Regions from separate parts of the Homo sapiens genome. Here regions 1, 3, 4, 5 and 6 are each linked to region 2. Evidence: promoter capture Hi-C in 16 types of primary human blood cells and fetal thymus (Javierre and others, 2016). All regions are on one chromosome and are shown on one strand. Each heading gives the region's core, a stretch centred on a gene start or on the middle of the fragment in contact. The rest is flanking DNA. Distances are from core to core; before and after follow the strand shown. Region 1 overlaps WWOX (WW domain containing oxidoreductase). Region 2 holds the start of MAF (MAF bZIP transcription factor). Region 3 overlaps WWOX (WW domain containing oxidoreductase). Region 4 holds the start of WWOX (WW domain containing oxidoreductase). Region 5 overlaps WWOX (WW domain containing oxidoreductase). Region 6 overlaps WWOX (WW domain containing oxidoreductase).

Region 1 (4,025 bases), core at 42-2,541, 1.1 Mb before region 2:
TCTTACTTTTCAGGCAGTCCCAGGCAGGAAGGCCCATTAGTGAAAAGAGCCCTGCATATGCTGTGGGTCATCACAGCTGCTGCTTTGCACATTTAGGAGATATTTGTGGACCTTTCATTAGGACAATTTTTATGGCCCGAGATTAAAAGTTAAAGTTAAGTAGTAAACGTAATGAACATGTGCCTTTGGAGATTCCAACTGGTTTGTATTTTCATTCTCTCCGTTGGTCATGGCCCATTGAATTTTGATGATAGCATTAAAACAAATGCCTCAAATCATTTTTGGAAGGAGACAGGATATGAATTGACAAATTAATAAAATAAATTATACTTCAAAGATGCTAAATTATCTCTTCTATGTAAGTAGGAGGCTCTCTTTTCAGATGTGGAATTTGTAGGAGCTTGAATATTCTCAAGAGAGGGTATGGGCAACATTTGATAAAAGATGTAATTATTGGGTCGTAGGAAATAATGATTGAGATAGGGTATCCACTGCCCTGGTGGGGGAATCAGTGAGGCTAGGAATCACTGGAAAATGACATTCCTTGAGACTCCTTCAATGGGTAGAGTTTGCTTTAGCTTTTCATGTATCTTACTGTATGATGGTTGCTTTTGGGTTGAATTCCACCTTGGGTTCAATTCAACATGAAAGTTAACCTTTTGGTGAAGGAATGATCCAGGGGAAATAGTAAAATATTAGCCTGTCCTCCAATACAAATTGCCTGTGAGTCCCACTGATACTTACAAATATACAGAGGTGGTGTAAAAGGATTCTGTGTCAAAACTATTAATATTTGAGAAATACAATACTTATCAGAGCCTTTGTATGTAAATGTCTCATATACCCCTCTAAGAAGGGGAGCGAATAGTATTTTCCAAACTTACGTCACCACTTACCATCCACCTGCATACTTTACACGTCTTGGAATCAACCTTACAGGGAACACTTGGTCGAAAAACAGTGTTTTCTAAATTTATATTACAGTTCCCACTCCCCCCCCCCCCACTTGTATCACTTTGTATGACAGTCTTCTTGGGAACATCCATTGGGAAACTCTTCCCTTGCAGGTGTCTGTTACAAGTCCTGGTTCACACAGTGTTGCGAAAGAATAGTTGTATGTCACAATTTTCTTTATATAGTATTTATTGAGAAACCTATTCTGTTAATAGAATGACTCAAAATCAGCCAACCCCATAAATACTGCTCAAGCATTTAGAAAGACTTTCTCTATAGAGGCTTCAGACGTCAGAAAAAAACTTAGAGAGTGACTTTCAGATACAGCAACCTAGTCTATGTTATAGAACATTCTAAAAAGAGCAGATTTTAATATCTTTCCTCCCACACTTGCTTTGACTCCCTCCTTTAGTAATTAGATAATTATGTATAATAAGCACATTAATTATGTGCAACAGCTGCCATTGAGTGTGTGCATGTACAACTGCTTGAAAACAGCTTGTGAGTTCACTATTAGGTCCATGAAATTTTTCTCCTTGGCAGGTTTTCACTATTAGTTTGCTTGACAAAGGATAGATACATTTTCCATGTGTGGAGGTAAAAGCAGTGCAGTGAGCTAAAAAGTTAGCAAAGGTGAAGTGGTCCTAATCTGCGGCCCTGGTACACTTAGATAGGCATCATTGCCTTTCCTCTGAGCTCTTGGTGCTGATAACAGCTTCCTTGACCGATAAGTGTACCAGATTTCCTTACCTGTCCCAGGGCAAGATAGCAAGAGTTTCTTGATGCATTTAAAAAATGCATTTAGTGTTGGCAAAAGGCTGGCAATTTATTATTAAGTGGAATAAGCAGTTTAAAAACAGTATGTACAGGGTGGTTTTCTGGCTATATAAACACACAGGCATTGAAAATAGATATACATAAATAATGTTACTATAATTTGTCTGCCTCCCTTCTCTCAGAAAAGACCAATGAATTATCTATTATGTGCCACTCACTATTTGAGTGCTGGGAATACAGCCCCATAAAGTGAAGTTTCATATATCAGGTAGCAAGATGGCCATGGTCTGTGTTTTGAGAATCACAGGCGTTTTTGAGGCTCATGGCTATAATCCCAGCACTTGGGGAGGCCGAGGCAGGTGGATCACCTGAAGTCAGGACATCAAGACCAGTCTGGCCAGTGTGGCAAAACCCCACCTCTACTAAAAATACAAAAAAAAATTAGCTGAACCTGGTGGTTCACGCCTGTAATTGCAGCTACTCAGGAGGCTGAGGCAGGAGAATCACTTGAACCCGGGAGGCGGAGGTTACAGTGAACCGAGATCGTGTCACTGCACTCCAGCCTAGGCGACAGAGCGAGACCCTGTCTCAGAAACAGAAAATAAAACAAACAAAAAAATACTATTCCATAGCTGACTATTTTCTGAAATGATTTTGTTACTTTTCTAATGAGAAAAAAATAGATCTCGTGTGTGGAGGGAATTGAAGATGTAATTTCAGACTCTGCGTACAGCTAAGCTCATCGTAGTTACTTAACTAACACTTAAGGAATTAAATGGCATATCTGTGTTTGAGAGGCACACTGAGATGAGACACCAGCTCTTTTTATTTATTTCTAATGGTTTGCTTGGTGTACTGGTCATTTCCCCGGAAGTGTGCAAGAAGAGGTAGGTGACTTGCATGTTGTCTATGAACGTTTTTAGAAACGTCTGGTGGAACCATCCGGGCATCACATAGCTATCTCTGTGCAGAGCCAGGCCGGATGCCTAGGTGAGATGGAAAGCTTCCGTCAGCTTTCTTGCCGGCCTCTCCTCGCAGCCGCTCCCTTCCACACCTGCCTTTTCACCTGCCAGACTGCGCGTTGCCCGTTGCCCTAGGTCTGCGTGTTCAGCACTTCTGCAACAGTTTCTTCTGCAAAGGTAACTTAGCGGAGGGTACAGGGTCTTCTTCCAATAAGTCAGCACCTTCAGTTAAAAAAAGCAATAACATTCTCCAATCTTGGCAGTCTGGCAAGGTAGAAAGACACCTGAAGGTGAACATCTTTGGCCCATGTGAAATTTTGTTACGTGTTGTTAGGTTTCATTTGTCTCTCAGTCAATCAGTCAATCAATCAGTCTCTCTCCTTCCATCCCCCCTTGTCCCCCTTTTCTCTTCTCTCCCCTTCCCTGCTCCCTCTCTTTAAGGTTTTCTCACAGATTAAGAGAGTAGCATGTGCTCATCCCAATTATTGAAACCGTGCAAATGAATAGCAAGAAAAATAGTTCTTGGCGTGCCCCTTTCTTTCCGCAGTGCCCAGGCCAGAAGTACCTGCTGCCCAAGACCACAGCTGACAGCGCCCCGGGAGTCCTTCACACTCTTCTCTGAGCTCTTCCATCCTTAAACAGACATCTATGCCAAATGCAGGGAGGGTTTGCTGTTGGCTTTTACAAGAACACTGTCCTGTTATGCCTGCTGCTCTTTGCTTGGTTTTCCCTGGACGGTCACAAACATACCTCCAGGTCAACAGTTAAAGAGAGAACCCACTTCTTCTAATAGTTGTGTAATATTCCATACTACAGATATTCTGTTATTTATGGTAGCTAGATTTCTATTCATTTTTAATTCCCATGCTCAGAGCTTTCCAGACATTTGGAAACATTTTAGAAAATTGACATCATCTCTTCAAATATCTGAACTCAGATTTCCTCTGTGATGTTGGAATCTTTAAAATATCATGCATACTTGGCCTGTTTCTACAATTTTGTTCCCCAGCCATCGTTCTCCATTTTGCACGTGTATTGTCTCCTCCTATTCCTCTGTACCCTTCACACGTGCCTGCAGGGTATATACTTTTGCACAGGCAAAAGTCCAGCTGAAATGATCCTTACTTAGCATAATTTAAACGCGAGGGTTTCCTAATGCTCCTTCCATTTAAATAATTCAAAAATCCGTGGCAAGGTACCTGAAAACTACTAAGAGAAGAGAGGTGTTAATGGACACATCATTGAGGCTGAAGCCAAACTGTGTGATTCTGTCTGCAGTTGAGAACTGTAAGAAAAAGATCAAGATTAACATTATTATTATTGGTGTTACCT
Region 2 (3,909 bases), core at 1,394-3,893:
ATTTCACATTTTTTTTTCCTTTGCAAGCTCAATCTCACATGAAGAACTCAGGAGAAGAAAAAAAAACTTTGCTTTTTTTTTTCTTTCATCTCGGAAGAGATGGGTTGAGAAGGAGTGAGGGTGGAGGTTGGAAAAAAGGTGGGCAACACAGCAAGCTCTAAAAGTAAAATTAAAAAAAAAAATCCAAACAAAATAAAACACACACACACACAGAAAATGAACACCAGTTCATGAACTGAAGGGGAAGAAGAAGAAAAAATATGTGAATGATGCAGGCTTCAAAGGTGATCAACGTTTCACATGAAGAACTCTGCTGAGATCATTGAACATTGTGCAAGTCCGGGGGTGGGGCGGGGGGGTGTAAAAAAAAAAAAAAAACAAGCTAGCAAGTTATGGAGAATTTCAGATTGGCAATCCATGAGCCAGACACCCATTCCCTCCCCAGTTTAAAACAGCCACCACCACCACAAACTCGAGCAGGGTGTGGGGTGTGTGTGTGTGTGTGTGTGTGTGTGTGGTGTGTGCGTGCGGGTTTGTGTGTGTGTAGGGGGCCAAGGGGGCCAAACTCGGTGGGGGTGGGGGTGGTGAGGTGGTGGCGAGCATGGCTCTAGAACTAGCAAGCCCACACCCGAGCCGGACCCCCGCGGAGCACTTATCAGGGTGGCTAGCTGGAATCGCGTGTCAGACTCACATGAAAAACTCGGGAGAGGACGGGTTGTCGCTGCTCGAGCCGTTTTCTCGGAAGCCGCTGCTCACCAACTTCTCGTATTTCTCCTTGTACGCGTCCCTCTCGCGCACCAGCCTGGAGATCTCCTGCTTGAGGTGGTCGACTTGCTGCAGCAGCTGGTTCTTCTCCGACTCCAGGACGTGTCTCTGCTGCACCCTCTTGAAGCGGCAGGACTGGGCATAGCCGCGGTTTTTCAGGGTCCGCCTCTTCTGCTTCAGCCGGATCACCTCCTCCTTGCTGACCCCGCGCAGCTGCCGGTTCAGCTCGCGCACAGACATGGTCACCAGCTGCTCGTCGGAGAAGCGGTCGTCGAAGTGCAGGCCGCCGGCGGCGTGGTGCGGGTGCAGGGCGCCCCCCGCCCCCGCCGCGCCCCCGCCGCCTCCGCCGCCGCCGCCGCCGCCGCCGCCCCCAGCGCTGGCCGGGCCACCGCCGCCCGCGCCCCCAGCGCCACCGGCCGAGGCGGCCGCGCTGCCCGCGGCGCCGGGCGCGCCGGCCGTCGGGTGGTGGTGGTGGCCGGCGGCGTGGTGGTGGTGGTGGTGGTAGTGCGGGCCCGCGCCGCTCTGCGCGGCGGCCGCGGCGATCACGGCGGACACCACGGCGGCGGCGGGGCCCATCTCCTCGCCGCTGCCGCCCAAGGAGGCGCCGGCACCGGCCCCGGCCGCCGCGGCCAGCTGCTGCGCCCCGCGCGCGTAGCCATCGAAGCCGCCCTGGAGCTGGTGGCTGTTGCTGATGAGCGCCTCGACCGCGTCCTCGGGGCTGAAGCCCAGCGCCTCGGGGTTCAGCTGCTGCGGGTAGCCGGTCATCCAGTAGTAGTCTTCCAGGTGCGCCTTCTGCTCGCTGCCCGAGCCCGGGCTGGGCGCCGAGAAGCTGGGGGAAGGGGGCACCGAGCTGCACGGCGTGCTCATGGGGGTGGAGGACAGCGAGCCCCCGGCGATGAGACGGCCGCACTGGCTGATGATGCGGTCGGTCTCCACCGGTTCCTTTTTCACTTCAAACTTCATCAGATCGAAGTCATTAACATATTCCATGGCCAGGGGACTGGTGGGCAGGTCGGAGTTGCTCATTGCCAGTTCTGATGCCATTCTCCTGCCGCCGCCGCCGCCGCCGCCGCCGCTCCGCCAGATGGGCTGCAGGAGAGGGGCCAGCGGGCTGTGCTGGGTGGCCAGCGGGTGAGCCAGCTTGCCGGGCTGGGGCGCTTCTAGCTTGCGCGGCGGTGGCTGGCCCGAAACCTCCGAGCGCGCTCACACACACACCCCCCCGCCCTGCCCGCGCCCCCCGCGCCCGCCCTCCCTCCCCCCTGCTCACGCCAATGTGCTCCCTCGCTCGCCCCGGCCCCTCCTTGCTCGCTCGCCTCCTTGCGCGCCGAGCCGGCGGCTTCAGGCTCGGGAAGATCCTCCGCGAGCTGCGGTGGCGGCGGTGGTGGCTGCGGCGGCGAAGCTGGAGGAGCCCGGCCCGGTGCGCGGCGTCCCCCGCTCGCCGCTCCGCTGCGCGCTTTGCATAAGGAAGGGCTCGCCTCGCCGGCCCGGGCTGCAGGCAGGGCGCGCGCGGCGTCCGCTCGGGGCTGGAGGCGCGGCGGGCGTCTGTCCGGGCGGCGCGGGCCTTGGCACGGGGGAGTTAACACTTCATGCTTCTCGCCTCCTCTTCTGCTTGGCTCTCTTTATTATTTTTTTTCTTTCCTCTCTCTCCCTCGCGCGCTCTCTACCTCTGTGCAAAGTGCAAGGCAGAGGTGCAGCCCGACTGGAGGAGAGGGAGGGGGGAGTTTAGTTCTTTCTTGCCTTTTTTTAAAAAAGCAAAATAGCGAAGTCCTGGGGAAAGACGAGGCAGAGAGCAAAGGGGGGAGGGGGAGGCCAAGCCGACAAGCAGCCCGAGCTACAGCTAGAAGATGAAAAAAGATTTTAAAGCCTCTGATCCAGCAAGAAGAGTTTAAAGCAATTGCTGAGTTTTATAGCACTCGTGACGTCAGGTCCAAATGAGAAATTGACTGGCACTCCGGGCCAATGGGAGGCGGCGAGAGCGGCCGCGATTAGCATAATAGTATAGAAACAAGGAAACTTTTCGGAGCTGTCAATCAGGGCCCAATCAGCTGACTGTCAGCTGGGACGGGCTGGCTTAACCCTTCCTGCGCCGCTGCCTACCCGGGAGGGAACGAGGCCCGGCGCAAAGTTTGGTGTAAGAGGGGAAGGAGTTTTTCCAGAGGGGCTTCGGCAATCCGGGCGGACCTGGGAGGGCGGTTTGCTTTTCTTTGGAGCGCGAGACAGGCCTCCCATCCGGAGCCCCAGCTCGCTGGGGGCTCACTCGGCTGGGATTGGCCTGATTCCCCTCCCCTGCCTGCCCTCCACCCCCAGGATTGTGAATTCGCCTCCCAGCTTTTCCTCCTCGCACCAACTCTGGTACCCAGGTGTCTGCCGGGGACCTTCCTTCCCTGAGCCTGGCCGTGCCCGGCGCTCAAACTTGGCCCCAACTCTTTGTCCGTCTCTCGGGCGCCCGTGCGGGGAAGGGACCGGGAAGGGAGGGATGCAGTGGGGTGTCCGGATCGGGGCTGCGGGCTGGGCGCCGCCCGGCCATGCGCCTGCCCAGAAGGCTGGGCATCCGTGGAGAGGGAAAGCCCATTTTATCCCTCTCTTTACAACGAGGTAAAATAAGTTGTTTAGAGGCCATTCTTCACGGAGACCGGCTGCCCGCTGGCGTCGCGTGCCCTTGGACAGAGCGAGCGCCTATGCGAGATAACTCCGGGGAAGCTCAAAGTCAGGTCAGCCGGGCTCAGCCTTCCGGCTCCTGACTGGCCGGAGTTTGGCCTTTGAGACTCATATTGCGCGCTCGCTCTCTCTCTCTCTTACACACACACACACAAACACACACACACTCACACTCACCCGTCCCCTTACGAAATCTGACCTCTGTTTATCAGGGTCAGGCGCGCCCTTTGCACTTTTACGTTTCCTTTAATTATTTCGGACTTGATCGTGGCAGGGAGCAAGGGGGAAAAACAATACCCCAGCCCTCACCAGCTACCCTCGAAGGGTTAAATTTTAAACCGCGGTTTCTGGAACTAGTCCGGAAACGCAGAGTGGGGGGTGGGGTGGGGGAGGCTGCTCCCCCCACCCCCAGTTGCAAATGCTAATAAGTAGTTCAAATTTCTAGATTGATTCTCTAAAAGTTTATGCAAAAAAGAAATAAAAAAG
Region 3 (4,131 bases), core at 1,313-3,812, 1.5 Mb before region 2:
ATTTTTCCTTTTCATTACTTCTTTTATTCAGAGCACACCTCTGGCTTATCTCTTCATTCTCTGTTTAGTTTCATATTTTACTTTAATTTCTGTACATCAATATCTGCCATTATAGTATTTAAGCTCTTGGAAACATCAGGCATTTGTTAACTTGTTGAGAAAATAAAGCACTCCACTGTTGTTATGAGCTGCTTATGGCAAGTGAAAAACTCACAATATTTGGCCAAACTTGGGATCATTTAGGTGTTGTTTGCAATTAATGGCAGGAGATATTTTCCTTGTTGTTAAGAGTATAACGTTGGTTTTAGAAAGCTTGATCTATGTTTTTCTCCATGTTAGATGTGAAAAGAACCAGGAGAGTGTGAGGATATTGGTAATATTGTCATATGGTGATCCCACTGTGGATAGATACGCAAGAGAGAAAATCCAGAAGAAAGCATTTCACTGAAGCCTGGGGACATTTCTGGTGACAAATGGTGCTGATGGCACAGTGAGAACGGGAGAGGGCAGAAGCAATGCACAGATAGAAAGGGTGTCACCTGCGCATTGAAAAATCCCAGTGCCATAACAATGCAGTCCCTGCAATACAGACAAACCTGACTCCCACCATTCCTGTAAATGAAGATGGGGCCTTGCTGAGAAATAGAGGATGCAGATTCCACCCTCAGGCTTCCCGTCTTGGGATGCAGAGAAAACTCACCCACGTGCAACAACTCAAGAGTCGTTATTTACCTAGCAAAGTGTTCACATGACAGTGTTTGAAATGTACCACGTGCCTTTTCATGTTTAGTTTAGAGCTTGACACTAGAGCTCTACTGTGGTTTACCAAGTGTGAGGGACTATTTCTTTCTGAGAAGGAGGGGAAGCTTTAGTTTCCTTGAATGTCTAATAGAGTCTGAGTTTCCTTTTAGAAGCATAAAAGACGTACAGTAGGCAGAATCTGGATTTTTAACTATACAGTTGCTGAAGTTATCTTCAATTCAAATCTTCTAAATTCAATTTTGTTAATGTTGTTTAGATATTATTATAGAAGCCAGCTTTACTGACTTCTGCACATTTAATCATAGGAGATTCTTCCATTCTGTGAACTTAGATTTCTTTTTTCTATCCATGACATTTATCTAAATCAGGCTTTCTTTTCTTTCTACTAAATTTTTCAATTACCAATAGGCTATGAGAATAATTAGACTGACAGTATTACTGAAAAAAAAACAAAACAACAACAACAAACAACAAAAAAAACACCTTCCACTAAAACTGACTCAAAAAGATAATAGCAGGGAAAATGACATGTCGATCTGTGATTCCTTTTTTACTTGTCAGTCCTTTTGGGAGTTGAACATATAAGCACATGTACCTCTATGTGACTTTTGAGACGTCTAGAATAGAGAATTCACCTTTGTAGCTGGAATTTATTCAGCATGCAAATGTGGGTGGGTGATTGTTTTATAGATGCCTGGTGTTGAATGATGGGCAGTTGTGATAACTATATATAAAATTATATTAAAGTCCAAGAGGTGCTTTTATGAGGCAGGCTGGAAATGGCATCCGATTTTCTTATGGCTTTTTCATGTCCATTTTGATGAATCTATTTATTACTTCTATAATGAGTAGTACACATGGTTGGTTAGCCAAGTTATTGAACTTTATCAACCTTGGCTGAAATTCACAATGCGTGCCAAACTTGTTGTAACATGTAAGAAATTACATCTGGGCTAAAAGGTTCAATAATGATTACTCTTATAATGGAATCTTCTACAAAGCAAGGGATTTCATGATATCCCTATGCTTTTAAAAAATTATTGTGATACAGTGAAACAAGGAAGAACGTGTAGCTGGAAAAATAGTATTTGCTTGTAATATACATTCAGATTCATAACAGGCTTATTTGATTCCCAGGACAGGGTGAGCAAAGGATGCTGTTTCCTGGGTGTCTGCTTTGGTGTTCATTGAGTCATGTCTCTCTCTTTAGACCTTACTGGATCTAGTCTTCATCATGGGGCCTGTGAGCTCTTTCAAATCTAGAGGACAAAACCTAATAAAGTGCTGTCATATCACATCTGTTTATGAGTTTCAAACTGAAATGAAATGTGTAGCCGTGTTATTCTTAAATTACAGAGACTTGAGGAACGTAGAGCTTTTTACTCTCACTAGAGAAATCTAAGCACAGGTTGGTTCGTTAACCTGTAAAGAGATGTTTGGGTTTTAAGAGGTCTATCAAATAACACAGTTTCCCTTTCCCAAGTTACTACCTAACTGAGCAGTAAGACCACCCATTAGGCAAATGGAAGACCAAAACATCACCTGAGTCATTCATGAAGCTGATACTGGAGAATATGTATAGCTGTGTGAGCTGGTGGGCTTTCTAATCCTGACCACCACAATTAGACAGGGTAATGGGTCAGTGCTAGGTCAGGCCAGACCTTCGCAGAGGGCAGACCCCATTCATGCAGCATGTTCAAGACAGTGCAGGAGAGCAGGGTGTGTGCTCTCTGTAAGAGGAGAGGAGAGGCAGAGCTGCGTGTGCCCGGTTCTCAATCCTGGAATTACCATTCACATACCATTCACAACATAAGTTGGATCAGCTCCCTTGAGCAGGAATAAGTGAGTGGCAGAGGGGGTCAGGGATGTTAACGCAAATGGAGATCCCTTCACCCAGAAAGACACATCTGAAATGGAGAAGATGCCTTTTTCCTCCTGCAACCAATAAGAGAGTGATGAAAATTATGACGCCTTGGGAAATAAGACTGCAACGTAAATGTGTGTCCACCCCCTAGTTTTCTTTTGGATTGTGAATCCTCACCCTCCGATAACTAGACGTGCTGTTTTGACGTCTATGCTTTCCAGCTTGCCAATTCTGGGGCCTGGCACAGTATCTTTCACCCCGGAGTCTCAGTTTCCTCATCTGTAAAATGGGAACCATGACGTCAGCATCACAGAGTTGTGAGAATTCGACAAGGTGGAATGAAAGCAACTAGTGTGGTGTCTGACCGCTTGTGTTAGTCCATGAGGAATTTCCTTACGTATTGTTTTGTGTCTAGGACCAAGTTCTTATTTTCTTCTTATGGATGACTTCATATATATGCCGCCACAGAGGGAATTACCGTTTTTCTTTGTAGGTAAAAAGGAGCTGGGTTAAGATGCACCGTCATATGAAACAGGGAAAAAGGGTTTGCTTGGGTTTTAGATTCCTGAAACAGTCTGCTGAGGGATTCTAAAGTTGTTGTGGTCTCTGTTCCACTTTGGGAGTTTGATAAAAATTGGCCTGTTTTATTTGACAGCTCTTAGGTAGTGTGCAAAATTGTCAACAGATAATAAAAGTTTTTTGCAAAGCTATGGCTCTATGTGCTGTACTTGAGCAGTATCCATACTCTTAATAGAATTGATATATGAAAGCAGGTCTTTTTCCTTATCCGTTTAGACCTAAATCTTATCCATAGTGTGTGGATATCACAAACAGCACAAGAGGAAGTGAAAGGAACAGAGTGGGTGAGCAAACCATTGTTCAAAGGAAACAGAACCTCGCTCAAGGAAAATGAGAATTCTTCTGATCAGCTTCTATAATGGATGCAATGAGGAAAGTTGTCTAGCAGACTGTTCTTGGCCAACTGTCTAAATGGCTCGCTGCATCCTCTTCACGAGAGCTGATGGTAGGACTGTAGAAGAGTCACAAAACATCACATGACAACGCCAGTCCCTCTGATAATCCTGCAAGAGCCAGCCCAGTTTTGCTGACAGCACAGTCTGCTGTTTAATTATTGTGTGTTCAATGACTTACCTCTTTTTAGTTTAATTAAAATTATTTCTCAGATTAAGAGCCATGCTATGATGCTTGCCAACGGATATTTAAAACATGTAACTGATTTGTTTTTTATAATGCTTCAGGAGAACTCAGTTGAGCAGTAAAGATGTGCTCGTGATGTGGTTAGCTCAGAATAAGGATGTGAAAACCAAAAGGGAAAGGAGGACAGGAGTGAATCTGGCACTTATCTTTCAGTGGGGCCTGAGTGCAAATTCTTCCTACCTTCCATATGAGAGAATAGGGAAAATTAAAGAATAAATGTCTCTGGGTTTAATGCAACTTTACTAAGGAATGAAAGTCCGATAAGAATCCATATCTTTTGAAAGAAG
Region 4 (3,961 bases), core at 1-2,500, 1.5 Mb before region 2:
TTTTATTTTCCTTCCTTCCTTCCTTCCTTCCTTCCTTCCTTCCTTCCTTCCTTCCTTCCTTCCTTCCTCCCTCCCTCCCTCCCTCCCTCCCTTTCTTTCCAGATTCTGGACCTATTCCAGACTTACTAAAGGAAATTCTCTAAAGGTGAGGCAGTTTTTTAAAGACAGCAGCTCTCTCTGTCGTCCATGCTGGAGTGCAGTGGCCCGATCATAGCTCACTGCAGCCTCGACTTCTTGGGCTCAAGTGATCCTCCCCCTTCAGCCTCAATGAGTAGCTGGGACTACCGATGTGCACTACCACGCCCGGCAAACTAAAAAAATAATTATTTTTGGTAAAGACAGGGGTCTTGCGATGTTGCCCAGGCTGTTCTCAAACTCCTGGCCTCAAGTGATCCTCCTGCCTCAGCCTCCTAATGTGTTTGGATTACAGGCATGAGCCACTGAGCCCGGCCTAGCTACCCTGTCTGAGTTGTGCCCACTACACAAAGGTGTCAGCTACATGTGATGTCTGTGCATTTCTGGCCTGGACCGCACATTAAGTGCTCCGTAAACATCAGTCTCTATTATCAACAGTCTCTATTATCAATCAGTCTCTATTATCATCAGTCTCTATTATCATGAGTCTCTATTAAACAACAGTCTCTATTATCACAGTCTCTATTATGTGTTTTGGCTGAAAGAAAGTTCTCTAAAACCAGGAAATCAGGAATCAGCAGTTTTAAGTTCTCCAGGTTATATTTTAACATTGTGTTCATATGCAAAACAAAGGTTGTGAATCAGCACGAATGCTGGCAAGCCCTGGAAGGTTTGTGATCACGGACTTTCACGAGACCCCAAGGCAAGGAGAGACAGAAGCCCAGGACAACAGCATGGGCGCCGCTTTTTAGTCGGGCGCCGCTTTTTGGTCAGGCGCCACCTGGACTACATTTCCCATATCCAATTGCCGGGCTCCTGCAGGATTGGCCAGAACAACGCGGAAGTGATTACGGGTCGCCCAGCAACGGGCGGAGTCCTGGCCCGAAACTGGATGCGCACGCCCCTTCCCTGCGGCGGGGAGGCTGACAAGGCTCCGCTCTATCTCTAGCGCCTCGGAGCGCTCTCCGGCTTTGCTGTCTAGCCCGGCGGCAGCGCGATCTCTTAGGCACTTTCACCGCCTTCCTCTCCAGGCCCTGCCCCTTTGACGCCGGCCGTCGCGATATTGCGGAGACTGGATTTCAGCTTCGTGGTCGGCGGAGCGGCCCCTGGAGGGCGCAGTGCGCAGGCGTGAGCGGTCGGGCCCCGACGCGCGCGGGTCTCGTTTGGAGCGGGAGTGAGTTCCTGAGCGAGTGGACCCGGCAGCGGGCGATAGGGGGGCCAGGTGCCTCCACAGTCAGCCATGGCAGCGCTGCGCTACGCGGGGCTGGACGACACGGACAGTGAGGACGAGCTGCCTCCGGGCTGGGAGGAGAGAACCACCAAGGACGGCTGGGTTTACTACGCCAAGTAAGGGGGCCGCAGTGGGGCCGCGGACGCACCTGGGACCCTGCACAGCCCACGGACGCCACCTGCGCGGGGAGGACGCGCACTCCAGCGCAGCGCGTGCGGTGCAAAGTGAAAGTAACTGTTAAGGAGCTTCAGGGAAAAGGGTCCAGGGTTCCCAGTAGGGGCCGGCCCCCTTGGTGGGCCTCGGGTCCAGCGGGGGTCACCTGGTGGCTTCCCGGCGCGCCCTCTGCTGTTCAGGATGCAGCACTGCGCGGCGCGGCGAGGGCAAAGCGGCCTCATCCCCGCCAAAAAATAAAGATGTTTTAAAAAGCGCACATGCTCAGCTCCCTCCTGCAGGCTCTGGGTTGCAGGGATAGGAGTTTTGTTGTGTTTTGTTTTGTTTTGTCCAGACCGGTATTGCTCAGTCATCCAGGCTGGAGTGCAGGGGTGCCATCATAGCCCACTGTAGCCTCTACCTACTGGGTTCAGACAATCCTCTCATCTCAGCCTCTTGAGTGGCTGGGACTACAAGCGTGCACTACTATGCCCGACTAATTTTTTAAGTATTTGTAGAGACTAGGGTCGCACCATGTTGCCCAGGCTGGTCTCGAACTACTGGGCTCAAGCAGGCCACCTGCCTCAGCCTCCAGAATTGAGATTACAGGCGTGAGCCACTGCGCCTAGCCAGGAGTATTTTTTAGTAGCAGTCCTAGATAGCTTCACTATCATTTCCTGGGAAAGTTTTGGAAACCCCAGCAGAGCCTTCATCTTTAACTGTGTGACCTTGGGCCATTGAAATAACGTTTAATCTTGGTTTTTTCACCTGTAAAATGGGTTGATACGAGGGTCAGTTCAGGCACTGTGCGTAAAGCACATAGCACCGTGTCTAGTAGGTACTCTCTGTTCCTTAACTGTCGTTCCTTGATTGCTCTTAAGATACGACAGTGCCTCTTATATCGGCACCTTAGAATCACCTAGGAAATGTCCTAAATACACGTTTTGGGTCTCCATAGAGAACCTACTGTAGCCGACTCTCAACTTTGGGAGTCTCTTTTTTTAAGCTTTCCAGGTGAGGTGGAATATCACCTGGTTTTGAGAAACATGGATGTAAATCTGATTTTCAGCATCTGGGAAACTTTTTTTGTAAGAGCCTTTTTCTGGGCCCCACTTCCAGAGGGTTTTTCTTTTTTTTTTTTCTTTTGAGACGGAGTCTTGCTCTGTCGCCCAGGCTGGAGTGCAGCGGCGCGATCTCGGCTCACTGCAGCCTCCGCCTCCCGGGTTCACGCCATTCTCCTGCCTCAGCCTCCCGAGTAGCTGGGACTACAGGCGCCCGCCACCACGCCCGGCTAAGTTTTTGTGTTTTTAGTAGAGACGGGGTTTCACCGTGTTAGCCAGGATGGTCTCGATCTCCTGACCTCGTGATCCTCCCGCCTCGGCCTCTCAAAGTGCTGGGATTACAGGCGTGAGCTACCGCTCCCGGCCTTTTTTTTTTTTTTTTTAAAGACAGGGTCTCGCTCCGTCGCCCAAACTGGAGTGCCGTGGTGCGATCTCGGTTCACTGCAACCTCTGCATGCCGAGTTCAAGCGATTCTCGTGTCTCAGCCTCCCGAATAGCTGGGATTACAGGCGCCCGCCACCAGGCCTGGCTAATTTCGCGCTGTTGGCCCGGCTGGTCTCCAACTCCTGGCCTCAAGTGATCCGCCCACCTCGGCCCCCCAAAGTGTTGGCATTACAGACAGGAGCCACTGCGTCAGCCCAGAATTTCTGATTTAATTGGTTTGGCCCCTCCCCTCTCCCTTGGTAGGTTGTAAAATCTTCCCTCCCAGGTGATTCTAATCTATGCAAGGATGTGAACCACTGCTGCCTTTGGTGGCAAGGTAGAGGAAAAACAACCAAGTTCTGATGAGTTCATTCAAGACACACACAGGTATTATGTGACAGGCCTTTGGCTGGCACTGGTTATACCGAGGCAAATAAGAGCCAGTTGTCATCCTTAGGACCCAATCTTATTAGGGCACAGTGACATGTGTAGGAGCGTCCCCACGCAGTGTGTATACCAGGAAGTAGTGTGTCTGGCATGAGGTGTGTGTAGGTAGTTGGGGGGGTCGTGAGGGAATATGGTGGCACCCTCACAGTAACCTTCACTTCCTGGGCTCAAGCGATCCTCCCGCATCAGCCTGTTGAGTACCCGGGACCACAGGTGTGTGCCTCCACACCCAGCTAATTATTACATGTTTTGTAGAAATGGGGTCTCACCATGTTGCCCAGGCTGGTTTGAACTCCTGAACTCAAGCCAGCCTCCCTCCCGAAGCACTGGAATCACAGGCCTGAGGCACTGTGCCAAGCCCAGAGCGGTGTTTTGAGCTCAAGTAGAGGTGGGTGGGGCAGGAGGGCAGTCTAGGTAGAGGGAACAGTGAGAGGAGAGACCCCCTGCATGGCCTGTCCAGGGGCCTGTGATCTTTGTGAGGGTCCAGGAATGTGAAGGTTAAGGCAGGGAAGGG
Region 5 (4,177 bases), core at 385-2,884, 1.1 Mb before region 2:
TAGACTTTTGATAGGGTTTTTTTTCTCAAGGTGTAGATTTGGCTAGGAAGTCATAGAAAATGGTCTTTTTTTTTTTTTTTGGAGATGGAGTCTCACTTTGTCACCTAGGCTGGAGTGCAGTGGTGTGATCTCAGCTCACTGCAACCTCCACCTCCTGGGTTCAAGTGACTCTCTTGCCTCAACCTCCCGAGTAGCTGGGACTACAGGCCAACGCCACGGCACCTGGCTAATTTTTGTATTTTTAGTAGAGCCGGGGTTTCACCATGTTGGCCAGGGTGGTCTCGAACTCCTGACCTCAAATGATTCCCTGCCTCCACCTCCCAAAGTGCTGGGATTATAGGTGTGGGCCACTGTGCCCGGCCAGGAAGATGGTCATGTTTTACTTTGAACCAATCTGTGCTTGGTTTATTTTTTTCAGTGAGTGTGGATTACGTTTATAATTTTCGGTTACTAGTTAGGTAAAGAATAAAAATTAATAAACACATTTATAGTTCTCAGAGATTCCTTGAGAGAGGAACATCTTTAAACGGATAACCACAGTCTTCTAAACACCTGAAAGGGTGTCTTTTGCTGAACTATGGAGTTTTAGTTTTGCTTTAGAATTTTTGGATGATTAGACTTGTACTTCTTTTAGGCTATTTTTCCACCTGGTACTATTTGGCTTTACTGACTGCCCTCATTCCCCATACACCACCTTGTTTTGTTCAGATTCCCCTAAATCTTCATTCTCGTCCCACCTCCCCATCACTCCTGACTACTTGAAACACGACTTCTGTCCTCAGAAGGCAGCAGTGTTCCCTCCTCCCGTTCATTTTTCATTTTCCCGTTGCTTAAAAAAATCAAGCATATGTTTGCAGTCATCACTGATGTTCTGCCTCCTCTTCTAAAGTTATAGATGAGTGCCAAGTTGGCAGAGCATGTAGAAAGATCACTGCAGATGTCCTTGTCGTGTTGACCTTATTGGAGAATTTCCTATCTGTGATGACCTGTAAATGGAATTTAAGGGAGGAATCAAACGTGTTAGCACGGGGTTGGCATTGCGTGGCTGTTTTCAATTAACTTGACCACTATGATAACATCAAAGGTGTGTGTACCATTCTATGACCATTGAATCTCCATGGACATGTTTTGGGAAATGGATTTGTCCCATTACACTGCTTTCTTTAGTGCATAAGATCTTGAAGGGAGGGATGCATTCTATGCACCCCAAGTTTCTGGTTTACTCGTGGTTTCAGGTGTCCCTTTAGACAACATCACTGACAACTCACTATGTAAAACCAAACAAATTATTAGCTTTCTTACTGTGTGTTTGCATTTGCTGTGCCCAGGGAAATGGGAAGTGCATTGAGGAAGAGGCCCCAAGACATGGAGAAGTCACTCCAACTTTCCGGAAACCCCTTTTGCTGTGCCATGTGCATGGAAGGAGAGGAATGAATGACTGTTGAAGCCAGATGGCCTTGCTCATTGATTCTCTCCTTTCCCGCCCTCTCAAGCCATCCAGAAGGAGAATGAAATGCTCAAATCAAGGGAGTTAACTATGGCAAAGATGTTAGTAATGGGAAACTTTGGAGGAAGGCAAAGTCAGAAATTATTCTGCAGGGAGATTTGGGGATGTTGGATGCTAAGGCCCAAGCCGTCTATTGTATGCCTTTTGCTTTGGCATAAAACAACAGATGACCTTCTGTTAGGTGTATGTCTGCTCATGCTTGAGAGTGGTGGTGTTTGGAAAGACTCAATAGCATATGCACATGAGGAAGTTGACCAAATGATTCCACAGCACATACTCATTTTTTTGCTCTGATTCTAGCTTTTCCTCCAATTTTATTCAGAATTTGTTCTTTTCTTACCTCACACCATATAGAAAAATCAACTCAAAGTGGATTGGAGACTTAAACATAAGATCTGACAGTGTAAAATTAGTAGAAGAAAACAAGGAGGAAAGCTCCATGACACTGGTCTGCACAATGAGTGTTTTTGTATATGAACCGAAAAACAGGTAGCAAAAGCAAAAATAGACAACTGGGATTACAACAATCTAAAAAATTTCTTTACAGAAAGGAAGCAATGAACAGAGTGAAGCAGCATCCTACAGAAAGAGAATATTTGCAAACCACACATGTGATAAGGGGTTAATATTCAAAATGTACACACAGCGTAAATGCAAGAAAAGAATCTGATGTAAAAATGGCCCTTCCAACATCTAGCATTATTGTGTGTTGAATAAATACTTGTTTGATTAGGTCTAATCACTCTTCATGATTGGATTTCCAAAATGTGGACTCTCAGCAGGACATTACAGGGACAGTGGTTGGGTCTGGAGATGTCACCCTTAGCTGTTTTTCACAATGAGAGGTTGTTTTATCATAAATAAATCAATAAATGGTAGATTATACACCGGAGTTACTGAGAATTATAAAAAAATTAAAAAAGCCCACATTTTAAAGGGAATTTGGTATTTTTAACAAAGCATCAGGGGGCTGGGAGCAGTAGCTCACGCCTGTAATGACAGCACTTTGGGAGGCCGAGGTGGGCGGATCACAAGATCGGGAGATCGAGACCATCCTGGCTAACATGGTGAAATGCTGTCTCTACTAAAAATACAAAAAGAAATTAGCTGTGCGTGGTGGCGGGCGCCTGTAGTCCCAGCTACTTGGGAGGCTGAGGCAGGAGAATGGCATGAACATGGGAGGTGGAGCTTGCAGTGAGCCGAGATTGTGCCACTGCACTCCAGCCTGGGCAACAGAGCAAGACTCCATCTCAAAAAAAAAAAAAAGAAAAAAAAGCATCAGGGTTGTCACCATGAAGCAGGAGGAGAAAAATAATGCTGTTAGACTTCTTAAAGCGTATTTTGTGGTTTATTTTATTGCTCTGTAAATTGCAGGCTGTAATTCATGGGGCTCAGGCCAGTGATTTCACAGTTGATAGACCAGGCACATCTCTTCCCACCCCTTCCCCACCTAGGGGCAAGGTTTTCAGGAAGAGCCCCTTTTCTAAACCACACATGGCCTGCTCACAAATCTTATGATAAAACTCTACCCACTGAGAAGCACAAGGTGTGAGGCTATTGATGAGGAGTTGAAGGTGACAGAGACCGAGAAAGTGCTGCACACCTTTGGCCTAAAGGGTAATGAGCAACACACAAGGATTGGGAGATGTTCATGGCAAGAAAAATTCAGAAGGGACATTGTTGTTTCACTAATTCTGTAAAGGAGAGCAGCGGCATTTACTTAGGCCGATTCCCCATTCTCTCTTTCTGTTTTTAAACAGAGACAGATCTTGCTCTGTTGCCCAGGCTGGAGTGCAGTGGCATGATGGCATGATCATAGTTCACTATAATCTCGAACTCCTGGTTTCAAGTAGTCTTCCTGCCTTGGCCTCCCAAAATGCTAGGAATACAGGCAGGAGCCACTGTTACTGGTCTGTTTTTTTTCCTTAAATACATAGGCAACTTCCTCGATTGTCTCTCCTTTATTGGCATTGAGAGATAAGCACAATAATGATTGTTAAGATGGAATATTATGAAGGCTCAAGGAATACTTCTGAAGGCTTTTTGTCTATGAAGTACACGAGGTTTCTTAATAGTTTGGCCTCTGGCAAAAATGGTTTTATTGTAGTTTCATCCTTGTTGAGTCAATAATTAACTGAGTTTGATTAAAGCTGAATTTTCCTAAGTATGAAAACCATGTGGGCCCTTCTCTTTCCTCGTGATGCACGGTGATAGTGCGTATCTAACACTTGAAGGTGTCCACGCTGGCCCTAGCTCAGTGAGATGGCTTTGCTTTGGGGGGGTGAGGGGGCGGAGGTGGTGGAAAGGCAGCAAGCTACGATGTTCTTATGTGTGTGGCCTTGCTTCTGGTGGTGGGGTGGCACACATGCTCTGTAGTCTTTCTGGATGGGTTTGGCCCACGGGAGACCCCCTGGCTGTCCACCAGCCCCTTTGTGATAGTCTCATAGTCTTATTTGTCTTTTGGCTTGTATCCCACCTGTTCACTTTTTACCATAGCTAACCTTTCTAAGTGGTCAGGTGGGACTCATGGAGATTTTCCGTTCTTTGGCAACTAGCAGCGACTGCAGATTACTCATCAGCTGTCTCCTTGAGTCCACAATGCCGGGCGGTGGACGGGCTTCCTGCCTCCTGGCCCAGGGCCCCTTTGCCGGCTCTTAGTGTAGAGCACTA
Region 6 (4,211 bases), core at 1,572-4,071, 1.5 Mb before region 2:
ATCTTATTTCTCTATAAAATTGGAGAATGAGTTCCTGTCTTCACCTCTTAATTGCCAATGTTTACCCACAGGGACTATCATGGGTAGATGGCTCAAGAGGGTATCCTTGCTTCAATATGATGGGCCATTAAGGAGACAGGAGCAAGGCGGGAGCAAACCATAACTCTTCATAGGATTTTATTCTGATTTTGCTTTGATCTATTTACATAAGTATCTGAATCAGTGAGAACCACCTGCTTTGAGTTTAGATATGCATCTTCAGATTTGTCGACATATGAAACGTTGCATTTGGCTGTCTTCTGTCAAGTTCTCTCTGTCCTTTTGGTCCCCCGCAGCCCTCACACGGCCCCCTTGATGCCCTCCTCTACTCATTTGTTTCTCTTTCCTAATTTTGTTTTTATTTTTATTTTTTGTGGGTATATAAAGGTGTCTATATTTATGGGGTTCATGAGATGTTTTGATACAGGGATGCAATGTGAAATAGTCACATCATGGAGAATGGGGTATCCATCCCCTCAAGAATTTATCCTTTGAGTGATAAACAATTCAGTTATACCCTTTTAGATATTTTACAATGTGCAATTAAGTTATTATTAACTATAATCAACTTGTTGTGCTATCAAATAGTAGGTCTTATTCTTTCTTTCTATCTTTTTTGTACCCATTAACCATCTGCACTTCTTTCTTAATTTTGAACAATTCCTTGAAGCTGCAGAAATATTTTCTAGCATGATTAGGGAGGCACAGGAGGTAAAAATACATTGTTCAAGGGTCAATTATTGTGTTGTACAAGGTGTGAAATCTACCAGGTTGCCATCCGAGTGGAGAATTTTTTTACTGTACTTGCCTATGAAGGTAAAGAAGCAAATGGAAATTTTTTTTTAAGAATTGAAAGGATTTTATTTCAAATCAACTCTCATACCTCATCCTGGGCTCCAAATATGTTCAATCCACTTGTCTGAACTTCTGCATTGGAGTAAATTTTATATAATTGTCATTGAAGTCAAAACTGATGGCGTAATATTTAAAACAATGGCTGGATCCCCAATCTAAGAAGAATACATTTTGTTGATCATATTAAGTACTGTTACAGTGAATGCATGGACCCATACAATTGTGGAATAATTAAGAAAAAAGGACTTAAGGGCTTAAAAATGTCTTTTTAACAATTTAACAAGTTAGCCAGAAACTTTAAAGATCTTATTCTCTTAATCTTCTAGCTAGACTCTTTTTCTGTAATGAGTAAGATATGTGACTACTGATTGTTTTTTGTGTTAAGTGTTCGAACTGCTCCATGTGACATTAGATAGCAGACTCTTGAATAGAGCTAATGCTCTTTCAAAGATTTGCAACAGCAGACCTGCGACATTGTAATCCAGGACTGATAGAGTTGGTTCAGAATATTAAAAGGGTGATATCTAGTTAGATACATAAGTCTTGATGGAGAGGAGGAGATTCTGAAGCATTGAGAATAAATTTGTGGTTGCTGAGAATGGCCCTCACATGTTGGAGTAAAGCCAGAAACTCTTTGTGCCTCTTCACAGCTCCCACTTCCCCCTAAGACTCTTCCTTCCTGATACCTATAATTCATTTTGTGGACACTGCAGGAGGTGTCTGCGGTCCAGTTGGAGGTTGTGGCAAATTGTAACGCTCAGGATGGCACAGATGTCGCACAAGGTCTTAGGGAGACCAGCCTTTCCTATTCAAGTGCCCACAGCTCTTTCCCCAGCTGTCACCTTCCGCAGGAATGGCCTTTAACACTGTCACCTCACCCCATTCCCCTCCACTCTTGGGAAGCATACGTCTAGGTGAGTGGTGAAGATTTTTATTCTGAATTTTTGAAATAATATCGTACTGCAAGTTCCAGGCAATCAAAAACTCACAAATCACTTGCACTCTGCAGCAGTGGTATCAGGTCTGAAGAAAGGAAGAGGCTGCAGATAGGCACATGGCTTTGCTAAGTTAGCTTTTATATCCTGCGTGGCTGCCTTAGAAAGTGTCCTTGCCCAAGTAGGCTGTGGCTTCTAGATAAAGTCCTTCTACTAAGCTATGAAACATGCCAATTTATAAATTGCTATCACTACTTTAGTTCCGCTCATTTAAAATGAAATAGCTGAATGCCGAGTGAGTGAATTGGGCATCTTTACTTCCAAGACTTCTGGGGCATTCAGGAGTCATATTCTATCTAAGCTTTAATGGTGTTGGTGTTCCCTTTCCTTTGGCCACTCAAGGGAGCCTGTTTTCTTTGGATAAACCGTGAAATCTTTAACCCTGTGAATGTCCGTTTTCTCTAAGGCGGGGTGGGCTGAAACATAACATAACAGGATTTATTTTGAAAGTGGTGACTCCACAATAAAAACATAGATATCTAATTTGCCTTACAAAGGCCGATTTGCAAATCTAGTATTTCCAGTGGTTCTTTCTTTCTTTCTTTCTTTCTTTTTTTTTTTTAATGCCCCATATGACGCTGCTTTGTTGGAATTGCCATTGGTGAGGATCTCACTGATAAAGAAGGGGACATCCCTCCCTTGATAGACTTTAGGGTTGCACTAGAGCCATGCCCCCTTTGAAGTGGCCTCTAAGCAAACTCTGTCTTGTCATCATTTTCCTCTCTGCAGCTGTAAGTGATACGGAGCTGTATTTTGAGTTTTTGATACTGATATTACTAAGGCAATTGGAGGGATTCTTAATTCATCTAAAAAAAATCAGGGATTCTGACAGATAAAAGGATTTGGAGGAAATGTCAGAATAAAGCATTGTGGGTTCATGAAGTCCTAGGTTTTATAATTAAGGTTTATAGGCAGGTATTACCGCTGCTGACTGGATTCAACTGTCTGGATTGGAGATGAACAAACTGCCATCTCTGGGCTAACTCTGACCCACTGCCTGATTTTGTAAGTAGAATTTTTTTTGGAACACAGCCATGCCCATTTATTCCCATTCCTATAATGTTGAACTACTGTTTGTGTATATTCAGTTATCCCAAAATAATATGGCCCTTTGCTTGTTACCAGAAGAGTCGCCCAGTTGTGGCAGAGATCATCTAGCTCGCAAAACTGTAAATATTTACTCTTTGGCCTTTCCCAGAAAAAAGTGCCGACTGCTATGTTAGATACTCCAGTTCATTGAAAGTGATATCACCCTAACATTCTCTAAATTAGCCACAGCTTAGATGAAATTTAGGCAAATGGAATGCCCCAGGCCCCAGGAAGACTGTGGCAGCACATTGTATGTAACTGTTGGGGATGTTGCCTGAAACCCCCGCCTTTTTTTTAGGCAGCTGCAAGGATTAGAATGTTGCCTCCTCAGAAACTAACACTCTTCTCTCCTTGACCTTTGTTTAACCAGCTTTCTGAACCTGAAGAACTTTGTAGATTGAAAGCTGTAGCTTGTGGACCTCTCTCTGTGGAGATCAGCATCTCAGTATCCAGGGGGAAGCCATCTCTTCACCCAAAGCTTCCGCTAGGAGATCAAGAGGCCCGGAACCCCGCAGTCCTGAATGCTAACCAGTAGAGACAAGGGAGGAATTCATTTCTGTTTGTGTTCAACATAGACTGAGCAGGAAGGGCCAGGTGTTTTACGACTCTTTGGAGTTAGCAGCTTGTTGGCTCTGATTTGGTAAAAGCAACGGAAATGCCTTCAGCACGGTGAACATTACATGCAAATGTTGGGAAGTGTTAGGAAAGGGAATTTTTTTAGGCGAGGGAATTTCGCATTGAGGAAGGTCCCTGCTTCGTTTTTAGACACAGCCTATCAGTCAGCTAATTTGGCTATGCATATAAATACTTTAGTATAAAATGCTGCCCCCTGCTACCTGCAGGCTGACATGTTGCTCATCAAAGGCAGGATCCTTCTAATGAGGGATTAGTTGGATGCCTAAATGTGGGACCACCTACTCTGTTCATTGTCTTAATTAGCTAGATGTTTGTTGGAGCGCATGCAAATTATTTTCTGTAAGCAGACAGATTTATTATCATATTTACGGAGTGACATCCAGGGTTTGTGAGACATCCATTAAATTTTTTTTTTTTTTTAATGTTTGAGATGGGGTCTCACTGTGTTGCTCAGGTGTTGGTCTCAAACTCCTGGGTTCAAGTGATCCTCCCACCTTAGCCTCCCAAAGTACTGAGATTACTGGTGTGAGCCACTGTGCCCAGATGCTATTAGCAAGTATGAACAAATTAGATATTTTCAGTCTACTCTTCTGTGGT

The links. The method cuts DNA at HindIII sites, captures the fragments that hold promoters and counts their contacts. A CHiCAGO score of 5 or more calls a contact.
Region 1: a contact is called between a fragment that was not itself captured here and the fragment with the promoter of MAF in region 2, in 2 of 17 cell types (neutrophils and monocytes). The highest score is 5.6, in neutrophils.
Region 3: a contact is called between a fragment that was not itself captured here and the fragment with the promoter of MAF in region 2, in 1 of 17 cell types (endothelial precursors). The highest score is 7.2, in endothelial precursors.
Region 4: the fragment with the promoter of WWOX here is called in contact with the fragment with the promoter of MAF in region 2 in 2 of 17 cell types (naive CD4 T cells and fetal thymus); the score reaches 6.9 in naive CD4 T cells.
Region 5: a fragment that was not itself captured here is called in contact with the fragment with the promoter of MAF in region 2 in 1 of 17 cell types (monocytes); the score reaches 5.2 in monocytes.
Region 6: a contact is called between a fragment that was not itself captured here and the fragment with the promoter of MAF in region 2, in 5 of 17 cell types (naive CD4 T cells, naive CD8 T cells, naive B cells and 2 more). The highest score is 10.2, in naive CD4 T cells.

What each region holds. Positions count from the first base shown.
Region 1 is chr16:78,512,903-78,516,927 of GRCh38, forward strand. All of the region lies in intron 8 of WWOX (WW domain containing oxidoreductase), which reads left to right. Among named protein-coding and RNA genes, the nearest start is that of WWOX-AS2, 15 kb to the left of the region's middle. The HindIII fragment of the contact is 2,881 bases long and covers 1-2,732 here.
Region 2 is chr16:79,598,094-79,602,002 of GRCh38, forward strand. MAF (MAF bZIP transcription factor) reads right to left here and starts at 2,644. Exons shown (of 2, transcript NM_005360.5): 1 at 692-2,644. The coding sequence starts at 1,809. It overlaps LOC101928230 (a long non-coding RNA gene), which reads left to right and starts at 2,794. Exons shown (of 3, transcript NR_188556.1): 1 at 2,794-2,896. RefSeq lists an enhancer at 2,559-2,853. The HindIII fragment of the contact is 16,856 bases long and covers 1-3,909 here.
Region 3 is chr16:78,134,482-78,138,612 of GRCh38, forward strand. The region is part of intron 4 of WWOX (WW domain containing oxidoreductase); the gene reads left to right. Among named protein-coding and RNA genes, the nearest start is that of WWOX, 37 kb to the left of the region's middle. RefSeq lists enhancers at 387-556, 4,030-4,131. The HindIII fragment of the contact is 3,396 bases long and covers 865-4,131 here.
Region 4 is chr16:78,098,404-78,102,364 of GRCh38, forward strand. It overlaps WWOX (WW domain containing oxidoreductase), which reads left to right and starts at 1,251. Exons shown (of 9, transcript NM_016373.4): 1 at 1,251-1,482. The coding sequence starts at 1,376. RefSeq lists an enhancer at 1,485-1,984. The HindIII fragment of the contact is 3,217 bases long and covers 1-2,520 here.
Region 5 is chr16:78,495,446-78,499,622 of GRCh38, forward strand. All of the region lies in intron 8 of WWOX (WW domain containing oxidoreductase), which reads left to right. It overlaps WWOX-AS2 (WWOX antisense RNA 2), which reads right to left. Exons shown (of 2, transcript XR_007065129.1): 2 at 1-986. Among named protein-coding and RNA genes, the nearest start is that of WWOX-AS2, 2.5 kb to the right of the region's middle. The HindIII fragment of the contact is 7,347 bases long and covers 1-4,177 here.
Region 6 is chr16:78,115,607-78,119,817 of GRCh38, forward strand. The region is part of intron 4 of WWOX (WW domain containing oxidoreductase); the gene reads left to right. Among named protein-coding and RNA genes, the nearest start is that of WWOX, 18 kb to the left of the region's middle. The HindIII fragment of the contact is 1,266 bases long and covers 2,189-3,454 here.